Linked DNA regions of Homo sapiens: region 1 is linked to region 2. Evidence: promoter capture Hi-C in 16 types of primary human blood cells and fetal thymus (Javierre and others, 2016). All regions are on one chromosome and are shown on one strand. The core of a region is centred on a gene start or on the middle of the fragment in contact, and the rest is flanking DNA. Distances in the headings are between cores, read along the strand shown.

Region 1 (3,838 bases), core at 743-3,242, 250 kb before region 2:
AGCTGCAGGCTTAGGGCCCAGGGCCAGCAGGCTGAGCCAGGGACGGTGACACCAGGCATGCGCAGCAGCAGCACCCAGGCAGCACCCCAGCAGATGCCAATGTGGTGGCCGCTTCCACCCACTGGTCACGTTGCAGCCGGGTGAGTCTGCCAGGGCTGCCGCAACAAACCGCCATGGACCGGGAGGCTTAAATGAGGGAAATATATCCTCTCCCAGTCCTGGAGGCTGGAGTCCAAGATCAGGGCTGCTGCAGAGCTGGGTCCTCCAAGGCCTCTCTCCTTGGCTTATAGATCCTGCCTTCTCCACATGTCCTCACGGGGTCATCCCTCCGTGTGTGTCTGTGTCCTCCTCTCCTCTTCCTATAAGGACACAGTCCTATGAGACTGTGCTCACCCCTGCTCACATCAGGAGAACGGTCCTGTGTCTCCTCTCGGGACCTCATCTTCATGCCTCCCCCTTGGTTACCCCACGGTCAGGACTCAGCCACCAGCGTGAGCCCACACACCGGCTCTGGAGTGGTGGGCACAGGTGAGAGGGAGGTACAGCTGCCACAGCCAGGAAACCCCAGGACGATCCTGAATGGGCCCAGAGCTGGCTTTTCTCTGTCACGGAGAGAGACATGAGAGGGTCATGAGTGTGAAGATCGCCAGCTCCCAGGGTCAGGGCCCAGCCTCCTTCCATCTCACTGCTCTGGACTCCTCAGTTCCTCATGGAGTCTGTTTAGTGCCTCTCCAGAAAAGACAAGTTGAAGCCCTGACCACCAGCATCTCAGAGCACGAACTCATTTGGAAATAGGGTCATTATAGACGCAATCGATCAGGTCAGACTGCAGTAGGGCAGGCCCTGAATCAAACATCATGGTGTCCTCACAGGTAGAGGAGAGGCACGAGAGAGCAACGCTGCGTGAAGGCGCAGGATGAGAGCATCCTGGAAGATGGGCACGGCTGGGGTGACAGGTCTGGGAGCCTGGGAACACTGGGAAAGTCGGCCAGCACTGGAGCCTCCCTTAGAGCTCGAAGAAGGAGCCAGCCCTGACCACCCCGACTCTGACCTTCTAGCATCGAAACAGGGAGAGACGCATTCCACGTGGTTGTTCCAATCAGCCCAGTTTCTGGGGCTTCCTTATGGCAGCCTCAGGGAACTGGCAAAGCCCAAGTGGGCTATCCCATTACTTATATCTGGGTAGGTCCCAGCCACAGGGGAGAGAGAAGAGAAAGCCCCTCTATCTAATGACACGCTGTACTCATGTCCCACCCGCATGATGTGCCGTACCCGTGTCCCTATCCAGGTGACGTGCCGTACCCGTGTCCCACCCGGGTGACGTGCCGTACCCGTGTCCCACCCGGGTGACGTGCCGTACCCGTGTCCCACCCGGGTGACGTGCCGTACCCGTGTCCCACCCGGGTGACGTGCCGTACCCGTGTCCCACCCGGGTGACGTGCCGTACCCGTGTCCCACCCGGGTGACGTGCCGTACCCGTGTCCCACCCGGGTGACGTGCCGTACCCGTGTCCCTATCCAGGTGACGTGCCGTACCCGTGTCCCACCCAGGTGATGTGCTATGCCCATGTCCCACCCAGGTGACACGCTATACCTGTGTCCCTATCCAGGTGACACGCTGTGCCATGTCCCTATCCGGGTGACACTGTGCCATATCCCTATCCAGGTGACACACAGTGCTCATGTGTCTATCTAGATGACAGCACCGTGCCCACATCTTTATCCCGGTGACAGCACTGTGCCCACGTCCTGTCTTGGTGACATCACTGTGGTTATATACCTGTCCATGTGACATCACTGTGCCCACATCTGCCTCCAGGTGACAGCGCTGTGCCCACATCCCCACCCAAGTGCTCTGGGCACCTTGGCTGGGGCTCTGGCCACTTTCATGTTGGTGCCACCCTGTGTGTGGATCATAGCACCCAGGCACTCACCATTACCGTGGCCAGCACAGACCAGACCCGACCCCAGTAGTCCTCAAAACTAGGTCCCCTGCTGGGTGCGGTGGCTCACGCCTGTAATCCCAGCACTTTGGGAGGCTGAGGCGGGCGGATCACAAGATGAGGAGATCGAGACCAACCTGGCTAACACGGTGAAACCCCATCTCTACTAAAAATACAAAAAATTAGCCGGGTGAGGTGGTGGGCGCCTGTAGTCCCACCTACTTGGGAGGCTGAGGCAGGAGAATGGTGTGAACCCGGGAGGCGGAGCCTGCAGTGAGCCGAGATCATGCCACTGCACTCCAGCCTAGGGGACAGAGCGAGACTCAAAAAACAAAAAAACAAACAAAAAAAAACTAGGTCCCCTGTGCTGTGCTGCTGTACCCCAGCAGTCGCTTCACTGGCAAGACTACTCTTAGCAGGTGCGCCTGGAAGCAGAAACTGGGCAGCTCCCGGTCTGTCCTATACACATGCAAATGCCCCATTAGAAAGCAAATAGCCCGAGGTGTTTGCCTGCTCCCAGGCAAAATCTCCCAAATCTTCCTCCGGGAATCAGTGAACAGAAGAGATGTCCATCACCCCCAGGAGAGTAGTGTCTGAACCCGTCTAACCGCCCAACAGGTTCTCCCTGCCGCCGGTCTGGACAGAGCTGCTTTATCACAACAGGTGACTTGCAATAAAGTTTAATTCACACAGAGTCGGCCGTGCAGGAGACCAGAGTTTTATTATTACTCAAATCAGTCTCCCAGGAAATTTGGGGATCAAAGTTTTTAAGGATCATTTGGTGGGTAGGGGGCGAGTCAATAGGGAGTGCTGATTGGTTGGGTCAGAGATGAAATCATGGAGAGTCAAAGCCATCTTTTTCTGCTGAGTCAGTTCCTGGGTGGGGGCCACAAGACTAGATGAGCCAGTTTATCAATCTGGGGGGTGCCAGCTGATCCACCCAGTACAGGGTCTGCGAAATATCTCAACCACTGATCTTAGGTTCTGCAACAGTGATGTAATCCTAGGAGCAATTTGAGGAGGTTAAAAATCTTTCAGCCTCCAGATGTGTGACTCCATGACTCCTAAACCATAATTTCTAATCTGTGGCTAATTTGTTAGTCCTGAAAGTCTAGTCCCCAGGCAGGAAGAGGGTCTGTCCTGGGAAAGGGCTGTTATTGTCTTTGTTTCAAAGATAAACTATAAACTAAGTTCTTCCCAAAGTTAGTCCAGCCTGCACCCAGAAATGAATAAGAAGGCAAGACAGAGTTGGTTACGTCAGATCTCTTTCATTGTCATAATTTTCTGTTATATATTTTTTTTTTTTTGAGACAGAGTTTCGCTCTTATCATCCAGGCTGGAGTCCAATGGCTCGATCTTGGCTCACTGCAACCTCCACCTCCGGAGTTCCAGTGATTCTCCTGCCTCAGCCTCCCAAGTAGCTGGGATTACAGGCGCCCACCACCATGCCCAGCTAATTTTTGTATTTTTAGTAGAGATGGGATTTCGTCAGGTTGGCCAGGTTGGTCTTGAACTCCTGACCTCAGGTGATCCACCCACCTCGGCCTCCCAAACTGCTGGGATTACAGGCATGAGCCACCACCGCCGGCCGATTTTCTGTAATAATTTTTGCAGAGGCGGTTTCACCAGGAGAACCAAGCATTAATGCGCTGTGGCTGATGTGTAGTAGAGCGGCATTTCCCAATGGGAGAACCCTGGGGCTGTCTAGGAGCCCATGCATGGCTGGGAGCCTAATCCCAGGGACACCACCGATGACAGCTCCCATAGCACGTAGGACAGTGGATACTTGGAGGCAAAGAGAAATCTCTGTTCTGCAGTGGTCATGACTTGGACCCCAAAGAACTTGAGCCCAAGGTCCAGAGGGAGACCCTCCCAACAGGGCCTCCAGCAGGAACA
Region 2 (3,449 bases), core at 794-3,293:
GGGTGCCCCGGGCCTATGGCCCCCTGCCCTGCCCTGCCCAGCCCATGGGCTCCAGCCTGGTCGGCCAGCGGGGACTGACTTGTTCCCAGGTCTGGAGCAGTAGCCGGCAGGATGTGGCCTTGGCTGGGGTTTCAGGGTGTCTAGTGTGAGTGCCAGCCTTGAGGAGTGATTTCAGGGAGGTGGCCCAGCCAGGCAGCCACGGCACTCGAACAGAGGCTATTTCTGCTCTCGGGGACCCTCAGAGCAGGCCTACCAGTCACCCTCCTCAGCCCTCTTGTCCCGGGAAATAAATGGCCCCAGGTGGCGTGGGGGGGCTGGCCTAGCTGGGCCTTCTTGCCTCCCAGGCCCTAGAAGCGGTTTTGTGTGCAGTGAGCTGAGCTGGCACCAAGCAAGCCTGCCCAGGGTCCCTGGTTGCAGGGATTGGACTCAGAAGTCCCCTCCAGCCACAGCTGCCACAGTCACGGATCCCCGGGCTGATAACGCGGTGCGCTTGTTCCGCTGGGAGGGGAGGGGTTGGGAGCGTGTGCCCGGATGCAGTGGTAGCAGCCCCTGGGGTTCTAATAGGTAAGTAGGAGTTTGTGGGCATGTGGTGGTGGGAGCAGAGTTCCTTTTGGGATCAGTAGCTCTGGAGTCACTTAGAGCCCCCTCGAGCCCCACCCCAACAGGTTAGAAGATGAGGCAGATGTGACATTTGCCATTATCTTGATGCCTCTGCCTGAGGGTGGTGGCTGCCTTGGCCTTCCTCCCAAGGGGCTGCAGGGCTTTCACCCCAGAGCCATGCTACGGCAGACACCTGGAGCAAGAACATTTACCCAGGGTGGCACGGAGGCTTGGAAACACATGCCTGGCGTTTGGCATGCCTGAAATCTGAGCAGAGCTGGGCAGAACTCTGCAGGGCCTGGCAGGGCTTCTGGGGAGACAAATGTCCTGTCATCAGATGCTTTGTGCACTGAGGCCTGGGAGGGCAGAGAGGTACAAGGAGGCAGCCATACCCTGTTGTCCCTGCCCTGTCCCACTCTCCCCATCTCCCTCCTTCTGCAGCTTGTCAGCTCCGTCCAGCTCCCATCTTCATGGCTGCTGCCCTGGGGTTGCTCCGAGGGCTCCCTCCAGCCCGGCAGGATTCTCGGGGCCCTGGAGTCTGACCCCGGGTTCCTCCGTGGTTTTCTAGCTGGTGACTGGACCCTGAGCCTGGAGTCCCCCCCTGTCTAGACTGTGGGTTGTAACCAGAAACCCCTAGCAAAGGGGAAGCTGGAGCCCAGGCCCTTGGGGAGCCCACCAACAGTCACATGAATGCTGGCTGTGCCAAGTTTGGCTCGGCCCTGGCTCTGCCCTGCGACCCCTGGCTCCCTCTCAGTGGTGTTTCCTGGCCTCAGAGGCAGCCCCAAGGTGGCCTGAGGCCGGGAGCAGGCCCTGGCTCCCCTGTCACCTACCCAGTGACCCTGGGCAGGCCCTGGACCCTCGGGCCCAGGCAACCCTCTCCTGCTATGGAGGCCTCCTCACTGCCTGAGGCCTTCAGGGCAAACTGGGGTGGGGCAGCACTGGGCAGAGGCTGTGTGGCAGGCCAGGGTCTCCCAGAAGGTGGTGGCTGGCCGGGTAAGCCCAGCTCAGATGCTGGGGAGACATGGGGGCATGGCACACAGGCCACACTCAGCCTGGGATCAGGCCCCGTCTGAGGACACCGGGTCCAGTTTTCCCTGGGCCAGGCCCTTGGAAAGGAGGAGGGAGTTGGGGAGGGAGAACGGAACCCTGGTTCTCCGACAGGCCCCATCCACCCACGGCCTGTGGGCTCCAGGGAGAGCATGGCCAGGGTGCCCAAGGAGACGAGGAGGAGGCTCCTCATGCTTCATGACCCCTCCTGCTCGTTAGGGTTTATCAACATCATTTAAGATCAGCCTTGTGCTGTGGGTTCCTGGCGTGCTGTGGATAACACTGTGCCCGGGTCAGCCCAGGCATGAGGGGCGGGGACTAGGCTGGAAAGAGGAGGGGCTTGCAGAGGGCTGGGCTTTTCCAGGGGATTAGGGTTCAGAACAGAGGTTTGGGGAGAGAAAGGGTTCAGAGTCAGGCACAGGCAGGCAGACAGGACCCCAAGCAGGACTGGCCTTCCAGACAGGAAAGAGGGTTGCGGAGACACAGGAGGCCAGTTGAGAGTGGCAGAGGAGAAAGGAGTTTCATGGGAGGATGGGGCTTGGAGAGAGATGAGGGAGGGAAAACGGGGGCCGCCATGCATCCTCAGCTTCCGGGGGACTTTGGAGAGGGTCGAGGCTCAGTGGGAGCTGGAGGTTGGTGAAGAGGACCCAGCTCAGGGAACCTGCGTGGTGAAGTGGGGGACTTGGAGGGAGGGAGGGAAGGCTGGAGTTTTCTCCATGGGGAGGAACTCATGGGGACTGTTATGGGGATGGAAGATCAGCTGGCGTCAAGCATACCGTGAGAGTGAGGATGTGGTGGGGTAGCGGAGGCGGCTGAGGCTGGGAGGACAGGCATTGGTCAGGAAAAATGATTCACAGGGAACAAAGTATCCTCAGGGGACCAGGCTCAGAAGGGCTGGTAGGGATCACAGAGAGGCTGTGGGCAGGTGAGTAAACCAGCCTCCAGGGAGACAAGTGTCCTTAGCAGCCAGGACCTCAGCACAGGACCAGAGCTCGGAACGGGACACTTTGCCCTGCGAGCAGATGGAGCATGACCTGGGGTCTGCGCAGGAGAGGCCACATTCTCCCAGACTCTGGGAGTGAACTGGAGTGGGGCCCCGGCTGGGTGAAGTCAGACTCCAGGAAAGGGGGCAGGAGCTCCGATGGGCAGGAGTGGGCTCAGCCAGGAAGGAACAGAGTAGGGGGTGCTGAAACTTACCGGAAGGCCTGGACTTGGTGGGCTAAGGAGGGAAGGGACTGGAGGGTGGTCTTGGGGGCCTTGTGGACTTGGTTAGGGACAGGATGGGGCAGAGACGGGCAGTCAGGTAGGGGGCCTGCTGGGGCTCAGGGGACTGGAGCTTCGTCAGGAGGGGACTGAGCTGCTGGAACTGAGAGTCAACAGGCCAGAAGGGCAGGACCCAGGGGCGGGGGTCCCTGGAGGCAGCAGGGCCCAGGCGCTGGGGTGGAGCGCCATGGGGAGAGTGGGAAGAGGAAGAGGGTCTCTCTTGGGGAGGCAGATGGGGAGGGTTCCGGGAGCGTCCAGTCTTCCACGGGGCTGGGGGCTCCGCGAGAGGGATGGGGCCGGGTGGGGTGGGGAGGAAGACGCAGTGGGTCCGGGGAGATGGAGGTGGCGCGGACACCCTGGTCGGGGGCTGTAGGGGTCCCATCCCTGCGGGACCTTGCAACTCCCCAGGGTCGCGGCTTCCGAGGCCCCCACCCTCCTGGCAGGAGGAGGCGGAGGCGGGGAGGTGGCTGTGCCCGCTGCCGCCGTGAGTCAGGCTCTGGGCTGCAGCCGCGCGGCCGGTCTGGCGCTGCGGAGGGAGC

Evidence for each region. The method cuts DNA at HindIII sites, captures the fragments that hold promoters and counts their contacts. A CHiCAGO score of 5 or more calls a contact.
Region 1: a fragment that was not itself captured here is called in contact with the fragment with the promoter of IFITM10 in region 2 in 1 of 17 cell types (neutrophils); the score reaches 5.8 in neutrophils.

What each region holds. Positions count from the first base shown.
Region 1 is chr11:2,003,204-2,007,041 of GRCh38, reverse strand. It overlaps a transcript of MRPL23 not described here. Among named protein-coding and RNA genes, the nearest start is that of H19, 7.3 kb to the right of the region's middle. The HindIII fragment of the contact is 6,201 bases long and covers 1-3,838 here.
Region 2 is chr11:1,749,189-1,752,637 of GRCh38, reverse strand. It overlaps IFITM10 (interferon induced transmembrane protein 10), which reads left to right and starts at 2,043. Exons shown (of 3, transcript NM_001170820.4): 1 at 2,043-2,279. The coding sequence starts at 2,196. RefSeq lists enhancers at 2,232-2,987, 2,988-3,449. The HindIII fragment of the contact is 9,148 bases long and covers 1-3,449 here.